Linked DNA regions of Homo sapiens: all the other regions are linked to region 1. The links are contacts of gene promoters, found by promoter capture Hi-C in blood cells and fetal thymus (Javierre and others, 2016). All regions are on one chromosome and are shown on one strand. Each heading gives the region's core, a stretch centred on a gene start or on the middle of the fragment in contact. The rest is flanking DNA. Distances are from core to core; before and after follow the strand shown. Region 1 holds the start of CNOT7 (CCR4-NOT transcription complex subunit 7). Region 2 overlaps ASAH1-AS1 (ASAH1 antisense RNA 1). Region 3 overlaps ASAH1 (N-acylsphingosine amidohydrolase 1). Region 4 overlaps PCM1 (pericentriolar material 1).

Region 1 (5,043 bases), core at 729-3,228:
TTCTTTTCTGTTAAACAGCATAAAATTTCACCTTTTGAAAGTTCTGAACAAACAGAACAATTGAGACAACGAACCAAGAAACACCTAAAGTTCAGTCAGCATCAGGCCTTATTTTAGCCAAACTGATTTTGCAGTAAATTTTTCTATTAACTAGACTATTTAATTAAAAATTATTCCATTTTAAATAAGAATTATTCGATATTATCTGAGGATACATATTTTTTAACTGTATGAAAATAATATTTTTAAAAGGGCTAGGAGCCCGGCGAGGTGGCTTATTCCTGTAATCCCAGCACTTTGGGAGGCCGAAGCGGGTGGATAATCTAAGGTCAGGAGTTCGAGACCAGCCTGACCAATGTGGTGAAACCCCGTCTCTACTAAAAATACAAAATATTAGCCGCGCATGGTGGCGCGCACCTGTAATCCCAGCTACTCGGAGGGGTGTGGGGAGCTGAGGGAGGATGATTGCTTGAATCCGGGAGACGGAGGTTGCAGTGAACCGAGATCGCGCCACTGCGCTCCAGCCTGGGCAACAGGAGAGCCGTACCCCCGGCAAAAAAAAAAAAAAAAAAAGGGGTTAGGGACTTAACAATGTTGTCATCTTTATTTAAAATAGTGTGAAACTGTTAAGTAAATATACTTGCAAAATGCATAAAATATAAAGAAGCAGTTCTAATTTTTGAAAACCATTAGAGACCATAGACATTTGCAATGTAAAAGGCTGCAGCAAACCAATTTACAGTAAAAGTTGAAATAATATGAATTGTAAAAATATTTCTAAACTGACCATGATAAAATGAAAAACTCACAGGAAGACAACAGAACAATCAAGATGAACATAAAGTAATTCTTGAGCGTGGGGACAAGACTATGAAAGAAGTGAGAAATGTACATGCACTGGTCGCTGTGAGATGGGGAGAGACTGCTCCAACAGGGTAAATCTTAGAGACTCAAGAAGACTGACTACGTGATAAGTGACTCTCAGACGAGAAGCATTCACTGATGAAAACTCTGGCTTCCCTTTCCTTTGATGTTGCAACAGTTCTATTTTCCATTCTTTGTGAAACCTGGAGATTACTCTTCACAATTGTATTTTAACAATTCTGCTGACGCGGCAATCAGGTGGGCAAAGGGAAAGATCAGTGGCGAAGCCTGGGCAGCAAGGGATACTGGAAATAGACTATGAGAGAGATTGAGAGATTACAGTCAGCAGCTATGTGTCAGGAGGGATGAGGAAATCCGAGTTAGAAGCGCTGAGCAGTGGTGCGGCAGGAGGCAGGGAGGGTCCGGAGGAAAACAGTAAAAGGGGGCAGGAGTGGCAGAGCAAGCGTGTGACCCACAACCAAGGGAGGTAAACCACATGAGGAGCTGGTGGGGAGCAGACTGAGGCGCTGTGAGGGTGGTTAGGACAAGCCCGCCCTCCCACCCTACTTTTTCCTCCGGTGGAGAGGCAGCGACCAGTCACCTGGAGTGTGAGTTCCGGAGGGACTCGATCAGGCGCTGCTTCTGCTGCTGGAGGCTGGTGAGGCCACCGGGGGACCCAGCCGCGGAGGAGGAGGCGCTCTTGGTCAGGGGAAAAAGCCAGCTCATCCTCCTCGGGTCCACGGGCCGGAGGCCCTGGAAGGCTCTGGCCTGCTTCTCCCAGTGGCTCGGCCCGGCGGTTCTCCAGCGACAGAGGAGCGGGGTGGGACGTCCGTGGCCCAAGCGCTGGGGACCGCGTCTTCTCTAAGCCTGTCCTGCCTGCGCTCCCCGAGTTCTGGGGGACATGCTACGAACGGCGGGCGGCTGGAGAGGGAAACTTGCGGCCCGGAACAGGAGGTCCCACCTTCACGGCCCAGACGCCCAAACCGGCCAGCCAGGGAGCCTGGCCGCCCAGCGCTCCACCACCCGCGCCGCCGTCACTTGCGTGCCCCGCCCCCGGGGGCGCTCTCCGCCCCCTCTGCGTGTCGCGTCATCATCTAGCGCCCCCGTCAGGACGTGCGAAAAGCGACGGCGCAGCACGGTGCGGCGCAGCTCCTGCTCGCCTTTCCCTTCGCTGGGCGAGAGGTGTCTATGGGGCACCCGCTGCCGCCGCCGCTACCGCCACCGCCACCGCCACCGCCGCCGAGTGCTGTCTCTATGGCGAGGAGGAGGAGGAGGAGCGCGAGCTCAGCGACACAAGTAGATCTTGCATCCGCTGCAGCCTTACGGGGGGAGGGGCGGGTTAGGGAAGTAGAAAGGGGGCGGGGACGATGAACCTGAGAGGGTGCGCGATGGCGCCAGCTGGAGTGCGGCTGGCGGAGGAAGGAGCCTGGCGGCGGGTTGGGGGCTGGGTAACTGGGGCTGGGGGTTTGTCAAGGGGTTGGCGCGTAGTGATGACGCAAAGGCTTTGTACCTGGGGCTTCGCAGTGGGACGGAAATTGGGAGTGGAGGGCGGTGGCCTAGATCCTCACCTCTTCGTATTGTTTCACGCGGCAGTGCTTGGGAGTCAGTGTAGCTCCAGTCAGTGTTATCAGCACCTTCGCACTGGCGCTTTGCCAGGGAAGAGAGTTATCTATGGCTTGAATACCTCGGTGCCGTCCTCTCGTTTCTCTGGGAAACTGCAGTACGGAGATGCTTTCTCCAGTAATGAGAAGGCCTTTGGTGTCTCTTCGGGGCTTCTGGGACTGCAGTAGAGAGAGAGGTGGAGGAAAACAATGTTAGACTACAGGGTCTTTCCAAGTCTTTGTGTTTTTGTGCTTATGTGTGTGTGTGTGCCTATCGGGGTGGGAGAGTTATAAAGGAGGGGTGTCCTGGATCTCCTTTAGTTTCTCTACTTGGAGAATTGGAAGTTACATTTGTGACTCTTCAGAGTTTAGAAGACAGTCATAAGACCCTCTTTTTACTCTTGTTTTTTTTTTTTCCAATTTGTATGAAAAATGCAGAAGGATTTGAAATTTCCCTGCCCAAGAATCAACAGGAACTCTGTTTATAGACCAGAAATGTGACATCTATCTTTGGTAACCATGCAATATGCTCTAAGTTTTAGACGTTCTATTGTGTTCTTTTTCCGTTCTGCAACTGCGAACATTCAGATAATTTTCATGGCCGTTACTTTTTTCTCAGAGCATTTACAAACATTTTTGACCCCTCTAGTCTAGTTAGAATAAACGCCGGTAAAGTAGATCTTGTTATCAAGTCGGATTTTGGTTGTTTTATTAATGAGGAATAAAAATAAACACCATCTTTGCCATGGTAACATCTGATCTTGTCACATGTAAATAAGTAATTTTTCATTTTTTGTCTGGAAATGGATGGCTTTATAAAGTTTTATGCAGAGTAGTTGAACTCAGATAAATAATTAGTGGAAAGTTATAAAATATGATTAGTATGTATGTGTAAAAAAGCTATTTTAAAATAACTGAAATTAGGACCAGGAAATCTGTACTGTAGTCCTTTTTTTCCTATAGACTAGCTGTGTGACCTTAAGTTACTTTCTAAACTTTGATTTTTTTTTTTTATGAGTCAAGAACTTTGAATAAATAACTTCTTAGGTTCCTGCTGGATCAATTATTCTGTGATTCAGATTTGATATATCTGGTCTTCATATTGTTTTTTTATTTTGACAGGTACATAAATAAAGGATAAAATATTTTATGAAACAAATCTTCAATCAAGTATAACATTTTGATGCTTGGCATCTAGACTCCCTTGTGCCCTCACTATGCCAGCGGCAACTGTAGATCATAGCCAAAGAATTTGTGAAGTTTGGGCTTGCAACTTGGATGAAGAGATGAAGAAAATTCGTCAAGTTATCCGAAAATATAATTACGTTGCTATGGTATGCCCACAAGCAGATCTTTAAAACGCTTCATATAAAGGAGGAAAAGGAAATTTTAAAGTCTTGAATTCAACCCTTTTGGTTGATATTTTTAGGGATTAATTTCACCATGAAAAGTAAAATTTGTCACTGCCCTCCAGCCAAAATCCATCAGGAATACACCTGTGATTTGACAGGTTGGGTTTATCCCTCATTGCAGTGAGGGAAAACGCACTGGAATTCATGGGAACCATGGGCCGTTTGAATAAGAGTTAGGAAGGATTTGGGCTCGTGTCAGGTGGTCTTAGGGGAAGGTAAGGGAAGCAGAGCTTTACTGTGGATTGGATGTGTTCGGGAAGCTGGGGTAATTCTGTGATTGGGTATCTTACTAAGTCTTAAATGAGAGACTAGAATGAGGTTAAAGCTGCAGAGAAGGAACAGTCATTCATTTAGCCAGGATGGAGATACTTGGTCATTTTGTGGTTTGACATTTTTATTTTTTTGTCCTTGTTCAGACATGATTACAGAGTGGCCTTATTTGAGGTTGAACTTTTGTGAAATTGTGTTCAACAGGAGAACATTAGGGCGTGGCTATGAGTGCCAGGTCTGCTCCTAGCAACACCAAAGCCTAGCTGGTAGTACCACATGAGCTCCCAGAAGCTAGGGTGCTCTTTCTCAAACAAAAAAATCAGATGTGCCAGTGAAACGTTGTTGGTCTGCAATTTGTTTTCATAATTAACACTGGAGTTCTGTGAATATACTGTGTTACTAAGCAACTCTGCTTTTGCACGTGCTGTTTGGTCTGCCTAGATTGTCTATCCAGTTAATGATTTTTCTTCTTTACCATTATACTGTCTATATCTGTTAGCTACCCTACTGTTTTCTACATCCACTGGATTATTATTAGCTCCATAAACCAAGTGTTTTAATCCTTTCTCTCCCAACACCTAGCATAACACATATAGTATTCAATAAAGTGGCTGTTGAATTGCACTGAATTTAGAGAAATATTGATTTCTTTACTATTTCATAGTGACTTGATAGGTAGTTTTTATTCTTAGCTAGCCCTAGTTTGAATTCTAATACTAAACCGATGTATCTTTGTCTCAGTATTTTTAATAAAAATAAACAAATGCATTACTTTGGGGAGGAGCAAGTTGATTGGTTAAAATATGACTGTTTCTTTGTAGATGACATACTATTTGATAAAGGTGTACTTACCCATGATTAGAACTAAAATTGTTTTCTTAACCAATGGAAATTCA
Region 2 (5,043 bases), core at 831-3,330, 840 kb before region 1:
GCAACATTTCTTTTTGATGCTCAAGGCATTTCGCTTGTTGATTTTCTGGAGGGCCAAAAAATGACAACATCTCCTTATTATTAGAGTATTTTGAGAAAGCCAAAGCCTTATCAGAAAAATGCCCAGGAGATTCACCAGAGAGTCCTTCTTCACCATGACAATGCTCCTGCCCATTCCTCTCATCAAACAAGGGCAATTTTGCAAGAGCTTCCACAGGAAATCTTTCTGACTTCTTTTTGTTTCCTAATCTTAAAAAATCTGTAAAGGGCACCCATTTTTCTTCAGTTAATAAAGACTGCATTGACATGGTTAAATTCCCAGGACCCTCTTTTTTTTAAGGATGGACTAAATGGCTGGTATCATCCCTGACAAAAGTGTCTTGACCTTGATGGTGCTTATGACAGGAGGCTGAGGCAGGAGAATGGCGTGAACCTGGGAGGGGGAGCTTGCAGTGAGCCGAGATTGCACCACTGCACTCCAGCCTGGGCGACAGAGGGAGACTCCATCTCACAAAAAAAAAAAAAAAAAGAAATAAAGTTTATACTTTTTATCCTTTAACTCCATCTTTGAACCTGGGAGGTGGAGGGTGCAGGTGAACGTTTTGAAGTCCCCTTGTATATATATTAGTGTTATATTCTTTTTCGGTTGCAAACTCCCTGAGATCTGGAATTTGTATTTCACTGCATGTGTATCTTCCATAGCACCTAGTAATCTGCTCTTCATTTAATGGTCATTTAGTACTTTCTATACACACATTATTACTATAATTGTTATTGTTGGCTTCTGTTGTCATTTCAGGGTGACTGTCATACTCCTCACCTTTCTGAGCTGGGAAACAGTTGAGAAATATACACAGGCGTTAGAAATATACACATATTAGATTCTGCTTTCTTGCTCATTAAGCTGAAATAGAGAAAACAATTTTGACCTGAGGCCAAAATGGAACTTCAACACCTTCTACTTTGGAATGAGCTTGTGTACTCAGTCTTTAGGCAAATGCAAATGACTTTTCAGGGGCACAGCCAATTTCTAACAGGAGGGGAGTGAGCTGAGGGCAGGGTGAGGATGGAGGCGCAGGGACCGGATGTGCAGGAGGTGCTTATAGGCGCTATTCCTTGACTGCCTTCTCTCTACATCTCTCAGAGCTCTCATTTTAGAGTGCTTTCTTCCAAATCTTCACAGCCATTACGTTATAACGTCATGATTTTAAAGTCTGTTGGTGACGTGCCACTTTGGGAAGATGTGGTCAAAGGCAGCAACTACTTTCACGTCCACTGTTGTCATTCAAGGCTTGCTGCAGTAGAATTACCAGTGTGGGCAGGCATATCTACTACTGTGGGGAGGCAGATCTGAATGAAAGCGCCAGAAGAGAGGCCAGGCCACGCACGTTCTGTGACCTTTTCAACTATTTACTGATTAGATACATCATACATCTCTCCTTCCCTAGGGAGACATGAATGGAGGAGACGGCAGAGAAAGGTGGACATTTTCTTCCAACAACATCTGATGCTAGATCCAGGTTTGGTGACACCTGAATCTTATGCAATTTAAGTGGTCCTCCTTAAGGAAAAGAATACAAAATTACAAGCATAAAATTTAGTAAAAGGTTGGGAAGGGGCATGAGCAAGTGAAGGTACTAAAACTTAAAGTTCATAGATTTGTTGTACATCCTTCTCAACAAAGGAGAAATGTCTATTTTCATGTGTGTATCAGTTAGGATGCTCTCAGATACAATAATTTAACTTGTAAGCAAACCAACTTGTCCAAGATTCAATAACAGAGTAGTGGCTGATGTAAATCAAGAGTCCAGTTGTTGGACAGGATCTGTGGTTGGTTGATCTAGCATCTTGACAATGTCATCAATGACCCAGTTTCTTTCCATCTTTCTACTGTGTAGTCCACAGTATCAATTTCATCTTAGGTGGCTCCCTTCAGGTTTATAGCATGCATGCCAGCAGCAATGGGGATTCCTAGCTTCCTCTTTCATATTAGAAGGGAGAAGACAAGGCCAAGCATGGTGGCTCACGCCTGTAACCCCAGCACTTTGGGAGGCTGAGGCGGGTGGATCACCTGAGGTCAGGAGTTCGAGACCAGCCTGGCTGACATGGTGAAACCTCGTCTCTACTAAAAATACAAAAAATTAGCTGGGCATGGTGGTGGGCGCCTGTAATCCCAGCTACTTGGGAGGCTGAGGCAGGAAAATTGCTTGAATCCGGGAGGCAGAGGTTGCAGTGAGCCAAGATCGGGCCACCTCACTCCAACTTGGGTGACAGAGCTAGACTCCATCTCAAAAAAAAAAAAAAAAGAATAGCATTACTGATTCCCAAATAGATGATGCTGAAGTTGTTTATACAATTGACATTCAGAAATATATTCCATGCTATCAGTTTTTTAGTTTTTATAATTCTTCAGGTGAAGTAAATAAGCAGGCACTGAGGAAAATATTATCAAATTCACAAAAAATGTGGTAGGTTGTTACAAATTCCATCGTCATTCAGATCAGATCATGACATTTAGAGAGAGGCTGCTTCACAAAAACTTGCAGGAGCATTTTTCAAACCAAGACCTGGTTTTTCTGCTATGAACACCAAGTATAATAACAGAAAGCCGCTCTACTCATCGACTGGAACATGCCTTATATAAACCTCGAAAAGGACTTTTTCACAGGGTACCTTCAGTGGTTGCCAATCTGGGCATGTCTGAACAACTAGGTTATAAAACTGTATCAGGTTCCTGTATGTCCACTGGTTTTAGCCGAGCAGTACAAACACACAGCTCTAAATTTTTTGAAGAAGATGGATCCTTAAAGGAGGTACATAAGATAAATGAAATGTATGCTTCATTGTAAGAGAAATTAAAGAGTATATGCAAAAAAGTGGAAGACAGTGAACAAGCAGTAGATAAACTAGTAAAGGATGTAAACAGATTAAAACGAGAAATTGAAAAAAGGAGATGAGCCCAGATTCCAGCAGAACGAGAGAAGAGCATCCAAAAAAGACCCTCAGGAGAACATTTTTCTTTGTCAAACATTATGGACCTTTTTTCCAGATTCTGAATTCTTCATGCATGTGTTATGTCTTTAAAAAAACAGACATGTTTCTAAAGGTAGCTCTAACAACCACCACCATCTCGATGTAGTAGACAATCTGACCTTAATGGTAGAAAACACTGACATTCCTGAAGCTAGTCCAGCTAGTACACCACAAATGGTTAAGCATAAAACCTTAGACTTAGCTGACAGATGGCAGTTCAAGAGATGACGGCGGACGGATCACGAGGTCAGGAGATCGAGACCATCCTGGCTAACACAGTGAAACCCCATCTCTAATACAAAAAAATTGGCTGGGCGCGGTGGCTCACGACTATAATCCCAGCACTTTGGGAGGCCAAGGTGGGCGGATCAGGAGGTCAGGAGACAGAGACCATCCTGGCTAACATGGTGAAACCCTGTCTCTATTAAAATACAAAAAATTAGCCCGGCGTGGTGGCAGGTGCCTGTAGTCCCAGCTGCTTGGGAGGCTGAGGCAGGAGAATGGTGTGAACCCAGAAGGCGGAGCTTGCAGTGAGCTGAGATCCTGCCACTGCACTCCAGCCTGGGCTACAGAGGAATACTTCGACTCAGGAGAAAAAAAAAAAAAAAAAAGAGTGTTCACGGCTGTTAGACACACAAGACAAACCATCTAAAACAGATACTGATAGTAGTAACCAATAAAAAAGCATCCAAAATGAGCAGCCCAGAAACAGATGAAGAGATTGAAAAGATGAAGGTTTTGGTGAATATTCACGGTCACCTACATTTTGATCCTTTTAACCTTAAAAGGAGATTTTTTTAATTTGGCTGATGGGTAAAGTCAAACATTTCCATTGTTTTTACTAGGTTGAGCTACTTGCAGTAATACAGGTAAGTTCATTTGTTTTTACTATATTCACCTCTTTGCAGTAATCCACAGATAAGTCTTAGTGCATTTATTTTACAAAGTACTTTTTCAAACATCAGATCCTTTTATTTCCAAACCTTTTTTCGCCTTTCAATAAGTTGTTGAGGGAAAGGCTTACACACATTCTTTAGAATTGGAAAAGTGAGGCCAGGCACAGTGGCTCACAGCTGTAATCCCAGCACTTAGGGAAGACAAGGCAGGAATGATTGAGGCCAGGAGTTAGAGACCAGCCTGGGCAACACAGTGAGACCCATCTCTATTAAAAAAAAAAAAAAAGTATTAGAAAAGCTAGAATAGCCTTATTTTCACAATGTGGAAAGAAATTTATATGAAATTTATCTGAGTCATTAAAATTATCCTTAGGTGATAATTTTTTAGAAGTACATTACAGCTAGTGTTGCCAGATAAAATGCTGGATCTCACGCAGTACCTTTGCAAAACATGATCTAAAATTTAAATTTGTCCTACATTTGTACTTGCTAAATCTGGCAGCCTTAATTATTACACAACTATAACGCAACACAAACAATAATCTCTCCCCTAGTTTAGAGTCCTTTGCACGAAATTTAGCAAATCCTTAATTTTGAGTACAGTACAAGCCTGGTAATCCAGTGTGTTTGGGATAGGCTGGTGGAACTCAGAACTGATACATATATACATACATGTCTATCACATTCACTGTCTATTAGGTGTAAATCATCTTTTTATGTAAAAGACACTACTGGTTTGAGGATAGAGTTGTCTAGGAATGTTTTGTCCTGCTGTGACAGCATCACTATGCATCCCAGTGTAACATTCCTACAAAGGGAAGATCTCTTAACCAGGCATACTTACATTTGCTAGTTAGAAAACCATTCTGAGCAGTTTTAACTCCATTCAGTTGAATGGTGTACTACATTGTATGAGCTATTTGTGGACCAGATATAAATGACTATCACCCAGAACCACTTTCATTCAACATATGTAAAATGTGATGAGTGTTAACATTTTAAATAAGCGATCTGCTTAATGAACACTGATTGGTATGAAGGGGAAGTGTCATTCTTTACCTCACTCCTGAAACACTTTTCTATCCAAAGGTTGGTTTGAGTCAGTATTGGCGTCA
Region 3 (2,940 bases), core at 1-2,500, 810 kb before region 1:
AACTGTATTTTGGAATACAAGAAAGAAATTGATCACTGAGGCTTGATAGGTCAGAATATTGTTTATAGCTTTATTTACATAGCATTTGAATTAAGGCTAGCATTTTACTCTTATTGGTATCTATTAAAAATCTCACACTATATAACTAACACCTAAATGTCAACAAAACAAAGTCTGCAGTCCATTTTCAGACAGAGCTCTGTGTCTTGGTGGGTTCGGGTTTCCCTTAAACTTTACTACATCTGTTTATCTTTTCCCTACACTGTAGTTTTAAAAAAATGCAAAAAGTTTCCTATCATCCCACCACTCGCTAACAATCATTCCCTGAACGTTCTGAATATGCCCCCCTAATTTTCCCATTTGTTCCTTCTTTTCTTGGTCCTTCTCCACAGCTCTCCCTAAAGTAAACATGCCGCCTTTACCCTGCCAGGACAAATCCCTCCGGCCTTTAGCATCCAGGTCACCCTGGCTCTCACAGGAAGCCTGCCTTCAGTTCACGGGCCCTGCCATACTTGCGTTTTGCCTATACCATCTTTGAGCAAGTCACAATCTCGTGACTTGTGTTTGGGTGTGTGCCTTGTGATCTGGGTGCCTGCAGTTTCCCCCACTGTATTGGAAATGCTTTAAGGATAGGGATAGCCAAAGCTCCACGGTTTTTACTCCATAGGACACCGGCAGGTCTCCCAGGACTGCCAGCTGTGCGTCAAGGAGGGTTAAGGCAGTCTTAAAGCATTGGGGGTGGAGCAATGTGCTGTCAGGAATAAGCTCCTATAAGGAGCTGGAGATTCTTTCCTGAGCCTGTTTATATTCATTACCTGAAACAGTGATCCTGTTGAAGTTGTTTGCTTTAGTTATTTGGTGAGACTTTAGCTAATTTTATATGATTATACTATATTAATATAAATATATACATTATATAACATGCTTTGCATATATTAAGTTATATTATTTAATATTAAATAACTTCTAAAGCAAATTCTACAAGTATAGAAATGCTAATATATATCAGAACATCTCTGAATTGAAAACGTCCTTAAAGTAAAAATAACTTTTCTTTCAGCTGACCGTATACACAACCTTGATAGATGTTACCAAAGGTCAATTCGAAACTTACCTGCGGGACTGCCCTGACCCTTGTATAGGTTGGTGAGCACACGTCTGGCCTACAGAATGCGGCCTCTGAGACATGAAGACACCATCTCCATGTGACCGAACACTGCAGCTGTCTGACCTTCCAAAGACTAAGACTCGCGGCAGGTTCTCTTTGAGTCAATAGCTTGTCTTCGTCCATCTGTTGACAAATGACAGATCTTTTTTTTTTCCCCCTATCAGTTGATTTTTCTTATTTACAGATAACTTCTTTAGGGGAAGTAAAACAGTCATCTAGAATTCACTGAGTTTTGTTTCACTTTGACATTTGGGGATCTGGTGGGCAGTCGAACCATGGTGAACTCCACCTCCGTGGAATAAATGGAGATTCAGCGTGGGTGTTGAATCCAGCACGTCTGTGTGAGTAACGGGACAGTAAACACTCCACATTCTTCAGTTTTTCACTTCTACCTACATATTTGTATGTTTTTCTGTATAACAGCCTTTTCCTTCTGGTTCTAACTGCTGTTAAAATTAATATATCATTATCTTTGCTGTTATTGACAGCGATATAATTTTATTACATATGATTAGAGGGATGAGACAGACATTCACCTGTATATTTCTTTTAATGGGCACAAAATGGGCCCTTGCCTCTAAATAGCACTTTTTGGGGTTCAAGAAGTAATCAGTATGCAAAGCAATCTTTTATACAATAATTGAAGTGTTCCCTTTTTCATAATTACTCTACTTCCCAGTAACCCTAAGGAAGTTGCTAACTTAAAAAACTGCATCCCACGTTCTGTTAATTTAGTAAATAAACAAGTCAAAGACTTGTGGAAAATAGGAAGTGAACCCATATTTTAAATTCTCATAAGTAGCATTCATGTAATAAACAGGTTTTTAGTTTGTTCTTCAGATTGATAGGGAGTTTTAAAGAAATTTTAGTAGTTACTAAAATTATGTTACTGTATTTTTCAGAAATCAAACTGCTTATGAAAAGTACTAATAGAACTTGTTAACCTTTCTAACCTTCACGATTAACTGTGAAATGTACGTCATTTGTGCAAGACCGTTTGTCCACTTCATTTTGTATAATCACAGTTGTGTTCCTGACACTCAATAAACAGTCACTGGAAAGAGTGCCAGTCAGCAGTCATGCACGCTGATTGGGTGTGTACATCTGTGTTGGTTTGGAGGAGGGGGGTTATTATCAAGAAATACAAGCTGAACATCGTATCTGAATTAAATAACAAGGGTTATGTAAGTGGGTTATTAAATATGACTAAACGGTCACAATCTTACTCTTACATGACTGATACCACCTCTTAACCAGATACTATCAACCCAATTTGCAGGTGTTTAAAGGCAGTTTTTCCCCCAGATAGGTGGTGCTTCCACAAAACTTTAGTGATTCCAAGATTACTTTAGTGAAACGAGGAATTATAAGAGGATTTACATTAAAATAGGATTTAATTAATGAAAAAAAAACTTTACTCAGATTTTCTACCTCTTACATAAATGAAGTCAGGTCAACTTGATGTATTTTTTTGTTAATGTAATAACCTTTGATATGCCTGATAGTAAAGAGGTGAGATGCTAATTGTTTCAGACCGATTTCTCCGGAGTAAATCAAAGTTTACAAGAAATAACAGGTATTAAGATTTTAGGAAGTAATTGTTTAGTGGTAAAGCAGTTTTAAAATAGGATATACAGGATGAGCCTGTTTATATAACACTTTATATATGTACTTATGCATAACTAGATACACATCTAGAATATCAAAAGATGACTGGGAGGATATTAACCAAAATGCTGACTGTAGTTCCTACTGGATAATGGCAAGTGCTA
Region 4 (5,043 bases), core at 1,240-3,739, 730 kb before region 1:
CGCATGCATTTTATACTAATGTCAATGAAAGCTACTAGATTAAGGTCTATCCACTATAGTCTAATGTCATGTTATTGCCTCTCTCTCTCCATATTTCTTTGAGATGCTCTTTACAAATTAGGAAACTACTGGTGCTTTTATCTGCTGCCAAGGGACTCAAAAAAGTGACAAACAGGGAAATACTATAATAATGTGATTAAGGCAACAAAATAGGTTTACACAAGCTACAAGGAAAACAGGAGAAAGGGGAAACTATCCTAGCTTGGATTAGAATGGAGTTTCAGAATTAAAATTGTATTAAGAGTCCAGCAGAGAAACGAACTTACAAAAAAGGCAGAAAGGACTTGAGATAGAAAAACAGCTACCAAGGTAAGAAAGAATGTGATAGCTATACAAAAACTCCAGTTCAGTGCCACAGAAAGAAAAAAGTTCAAGGCAGAGTGTGTTGAGAAATGAGTCTGGAGAGGCAGGAAGGAACCAAATCCCTGATGGCCATGTACGTTCCATGAAGGCATTCAGACTTTATCCTGTAGGCACAGTAAGCCAAAGGATTGAAGCAGGAGATGACATGATTTCATATCTAATTCTTAATCAGATAAGATTTTCAGAATTTGAAGAGTTCCACAATTGTAACTATCCTTTGTTTAGAATTTTATTAAAATGTGTCCAAAACTATTAAATAGTATAACACAAAATATTTTCAGTTTTTATTTTTCAGTATCAAGGAATGTGTACTATAATTTCCACTATAAAACCTTCCACATGATAGATACGTGTGAAACACCAATTTTAACACCTGCTTTATTATAGCTTTTCAAATCTAAGCTGAAAACCTCCTTATATTAATGCAAACCAAAAAAGAACATACCTGAAGATATTTCTGTAGACCTATTACATTTTATTATTTTTTCCAGTTGCTCATGATTCTTTCTGCTGAATACTTTTGCTTGAACAGGCTCTTCAGTCTGGGCTGAATGTCTGTTCCTACTTTTGCAAGGTTCACATGTGCTAGACATACTGGCACTTTCATACCCTTGAGTAAAAAAAGTGACAACTGTTATCAGTTGCAACTAACTCAAACTAAAAGGGAAATCGGTTTCCATTGTGTAACAGTACAGGTAACTCAATTTACAATGCTAGGAAGGCCTGGTATAAATAGAATACAAAACAGTAAATATGTCTTGGAGGTATCTTTGCAATACCCTTTGGAAGCATGAGCTAACAGTAATAAATCTAACCTTCACTGTTCTTTGATACTCATCTTAATGAGTATATTCCAATTCGAAGTATATGGCAGACCTTACATGACCCCAAATCTCTACTAGAATTCCAAGTTAGCAATTTTTAATATTAGGAGACATAAGAATCACATCCGATATATACAAATATCCATTATAGAGGGAGAGTAGTCAAATACATTTGCCTTTCTTATTGTTATCTTTTATGTGACATGACTTGGTTTAAAAGGTCTTACCCACTGATAGGTTATACATATATTCTATAAAATTTTCAAGTTTTTAAAATATTTTGGTATATATACAAGGTAGAAATTCCTTTTTTTTTTTTGTTCCACATGGATAGGTGGCTATACCTACCCTCTTTCCACTGAATTAAAATACACATCGGTCAATATATTAAATTCCAATATTTGGGGTTTTACTTTTGGACATTTATGTGTTCAACTTAGCTATTCCAATGCCATTTTTATTCATTTAGAAACACAAGTTATACAGGATGATCAAATATCTGCTAAGGCAAGTCCCACTAGCTTCACTTTTTTCTTGACTATTCTTGGGCATCTGTCCTTCCACATAAGCTTTGTTGTTTTTTGTTTTTAATTTTAAAAACAATCTCTGGGGACTCAAAATGGAATCAAATTAAAAGTATGTATTAATCTCAGGAGAAATGGTATTTAATAATCTTATGCATTTCCATCTTTTCCATCTTAAGAACATGGTTATGTTTTTATATTTGTTCAATCTTTCTGATGTTCTTCAAAAATACTTTATAGCTTTTTATAGACCTAGTACTTTCCTTGTTAAATTTGTTCCTTACATTTCATACCCCCCACTCAAACACTTAGAGTACTACTATGAGAAGAGCGTTCCTCTCCACTTTCATGCTACTGGATATTACAACAGAGAAAAATATTCACACACTTATTCCATAACCAGCCACTTTAACAGTTTACCTTGTAACTCTAGGAGCTACTTTCCAGTATCTCTTGGGCTTTCTTAGTATACAAAAATGCCACTAGAAAAGAACACATAAAACTTGCTTCCTTCCTTTTCCAATATTTACTACCATTATAATTCCAATTATTTGACCTAATGCTTCCCAAATAATGGTAAATAATGATGGTGGGACAGAAGGAATCCCTGTTTAGTTCCTAACTGAGATAGAAATATCTCTGGAGTACTTTCATTTACAATGATGTACACTGGCTAACAGTCTTTATTACACTCAAATAACTGCTTTTTTTTTTTTTTTCTTTTCTTTTGAGACTGAGTCTCATTCTGTTGCCCAGGCTCAAGTACAGTGACACAGTCTTGGCTCATTGCAAACTCCACCTACCAGGCTCAAGCAATCCAACTGCCTCGCCCTCCCAAAGTGCTGGGATTACAGGCATAACTGCCTTCTTATACCCATTTTACTTCAAATTCTCATGAGAATAGCTTCTATGATTATTTGTCCCTTTGATAGAATAAATTATGTTGACAGATTTCCTGGTAACAAATCATCATTACATGTCTGAAATAAACTCTAGTGTTGATAGTCTAGAATTCTTTTGATACAATGGCAGATTCAATTTGCTAATATTTTATTTTTACTTTTGAATTTATATTAGTGAGACTGATCTACTGTTTTCTTTATTAAACTGTTCTCTGTCTTCTTTATCTTCCCCTGTATAAAGGTCTCTATTTTGATTCACAGGTTGTTTCTTTAGTTTTCCTCAGATAGGATAAACTAGTATCTCCTTTTCATTCTGACATGTGGAGGGTCCTTTGGCTGAGTACAAGGTTCCTGAGTTGCAGTTCTTTGTCAACTGTGTAGCGTCATTCCACTTTTTTCTACTTCTGCTTGTGTGGTAAGGAAGATTGCCTGGTGTCGGTTTGGTTCTTTTTCTTTGTATGCAACTTGGTCTTTCATATGGAAGCTTAGAGGATTTTTACTTTTTCCTTGGAATTCAGGGATTTTGCCAGACTCTGCATAGGTGTTTGTGTGTTTCCCTCACTTCTCTCCTGGCTAGACAACAGCCAGCTGTTCTGATCTGCAGTCTCAAGTCTTTCTTCATCCCATCTATTATTTAGTTATTGCTTGTCCACCTGGTTTTTTATTTTCCCCTTCAGAACTTCTTGTAAGTCTCTAATCGTCTTCTCTTGATTTTATCTGTTAGTACTTTCATTCCATTTAATGACATAATTCTTCCCCCTGATTTTCTAGGCCTGTAATTTGGAACTTAATAGCACGTGTCCTCTTTTTTAAATAATCTAAACATTAAAACTTAATGTCATTTTTTTCTAGCTCTAAAGAATTTGTTATAATTCAATCTGCTTATGTGCCCTTATTATTTTGTTCAAGTGTATTTGTTCAATATTTTGTTCAATAATTCTATTTTCACTAGGTTTTGCCTCTTTCAGTGGTCTACTTCTGTTTTCTCCCTGGTAACTAGGTCCCTTTTATATGCACTGTTATATTCACTGGCCTAGTCATGACTCTCACCTTCTCTTAAGGCTGGACCCAAATGCTGGATAGCTTTAATAATGGCAAGATGAGGGTGCATGGAAGTCTCATTCCTGTGGTCAAGCAACATTTTCGCTAGCAAGCTGTCAGTCCCTCATCAAGACAATGAGAGGAATCTTCTCTACTGCTTAGTCTCTTCAGCTGCAAAGACTAATGCTCTCCCATGTACAGGGTTAAGGAAGACTGCCACCTACTTACTCAATAACCTTTCTGCCAACTAGTAGCTTGCAGTAGCAAAACACTGCTACTCTTGGGGGTAAGGGGAAGGGTTAATAACAGGAGGAATTGCAAGGATCTCCTCCAACATAGCTTTCTCCAAGAATCATGGAGATCTGACCATGCTCCTGACACTCTAGGAAAAAGCCAGCAGACCCTAAAGCCTTGCTTGCATCTTCCAGATCACCGCACAGGTCTACTAACAACAAATAATTTTCCCAAATATTGTCAATTTATTATCTGTGATATCCCATCTAGATTCAGCCCTCCCTCTCTATTTCCAAGGCCATTATGTAAGACTTCATCATCTCAACTTTAGGTTCCAGGTTTTTTCACTGGTCTCTCAAACTAAAGTTTAGCCTCTGCCACCGAGTCTGCATGAAATTTACTGAAAAGAGAGACCTCTTGATTATTATTGATCTTAATATAAAACCAGCAATAAAGAGTATGAGTGCCAAAAGCAATATGTAAAATGACATGACTGGTAGTACTATTGCTCATTTAATAACATACAATGATCTAAAGAAAAAGATTTTAAGTATGTTATTCTAACATGAACATTTATATAAGTGAAATTAAACATTTAAATGCTGTTACTGTATCACATGAAAAGTGATGAATAAATTTTAATCAAAATTAAAATGCACTTAATGTGGCATATACGAAATTCTCAGTGGGGAGTCCCAATAGGTACTTTAAAAAGGAATACATACAGTCATCCTCCAAAATAGCTGAAACTGTGAAGAGAAGTAGGCTATAATTATTAAGATGCTACGAAAAGAGAAAAAAAAAAAACTGGTTTTATATATGAGTCCCAAATTAAAAACATCAAAGGCTAGATTTCCAAAGTTAAGGTACTAATGTGTGACTGATGAGAGATAAGGATGTTATCGCCTATGCCACTTCACCACTCTTTCCCTTTCTCATTCTGTTTTTCTCAGCATGAGGGGGTGACATTAGTAGAAGAAACAGTACTTCTACTTGAGCCTCCACTGAAGGGAAAGAGATCAGCCATGGCACTCTGGAGACCTTGCACATGTCCAAAGAGCGCAGAGAGGTTAAGGTCTGAATCACAGTGCAAGC

Evidence for each region. Contacts are between HindIII fragments. The CHiCAGO score rates a contact against its expected background, and 5 or more counts as called.
Region 2: a contact is called between a fragment that was not itself captured here and the fragment with the promoter of CNOT7 in region 1, in 1 of 17 cell types (neutrophils). The highest score is 6.1, in neutrophils.
Region 3: a fragment that was not itself captured here is called in contact with the fragment with the promoter of CNOT7 in region 1 in 1 of 17 cell types (neutrophils); the score reaches 7.1 in neutrophils.
Region 4: a fragment that was not itself captured here is called in contact with the fragment with the promoter of CNOT7 in region 1 in 1 of 17 cell types (neutrophils); the score reaches 6.8 in neutrophils.

What each region holds. Positions count from the first base shown.
Region 1 is chr8:17,243,792-17,248,834 of GRCh38, reverse strand. CNOT7 (CCR4-NOT transcription complex subunit 7) reads left to right here and starts at 1,978. Exons shown (of 7, transcript NM_013354.7): 1 at 1,978-2,160; 2 at 3,588-3,799. The coding sequence starts at 3,683. VPS37A (VPS37A subunit of ESCRT-I) reads right to left here and starts at 1,877. Exons shown (of 12, transcript NM_152415.3): 1 at 1,466-1,877. The coding sequence starts at 1,590. RefSeq lists an enhancer at 1,381-2,229. The HindIII fragment of the contact is 11,268 bases long and covers 1-5,043 here.
Region 2 is chr8:18,087,151-18,092,193 of GRCh38, reverse strand. All of the region lies in intron 4 of ASAH1-AS1 (ASAH1 antisense RNA 1), which reads right to left. It also overlaps the pseudogene MRPS18CP3 and the pseudogene ABRAXAS1P2. Among named protein-coding and RNA genes, the nearest start is that of ASAH1-AS1, 4.8 kb to the right of the region's middle. The HindIII fragment of the contact is 6,497 bases long and covers 1-5,043 here.
Region 3 is chr8:18,055,744-18,058,683 of GRCh38, reverse strand. ASAH1 (N-acylsphingosine amidohydrolase 1) reads left to right here. Exons shown (of 14, transcript NM_177924.5): 14 at 1,061-2,692. The coding sequence ends at 1,150. Among named protein-coding and RNA genes, the nearest start is that of ASAH1, 27 kb to the left of the region's middle. The HindIII fragment of the contact is 9,765 bases long and covers 1-2,940 here.
Region 4 is chr8:17,976,581-17,981,623 of GRCh38, reverse strand. It overlaps PCM1 (pericentriolar material 1), which reads right to left. Exons shown (of 39, transcript NM_006197.4): 24 at 869-1,033. Among named protein-coding and RNA genes, the nearest start is that of PCM1, 56 kb to the right of the region's middle. The HindIII fragment of the contact is 1,341 bases long and covers 1,819-3,159 here.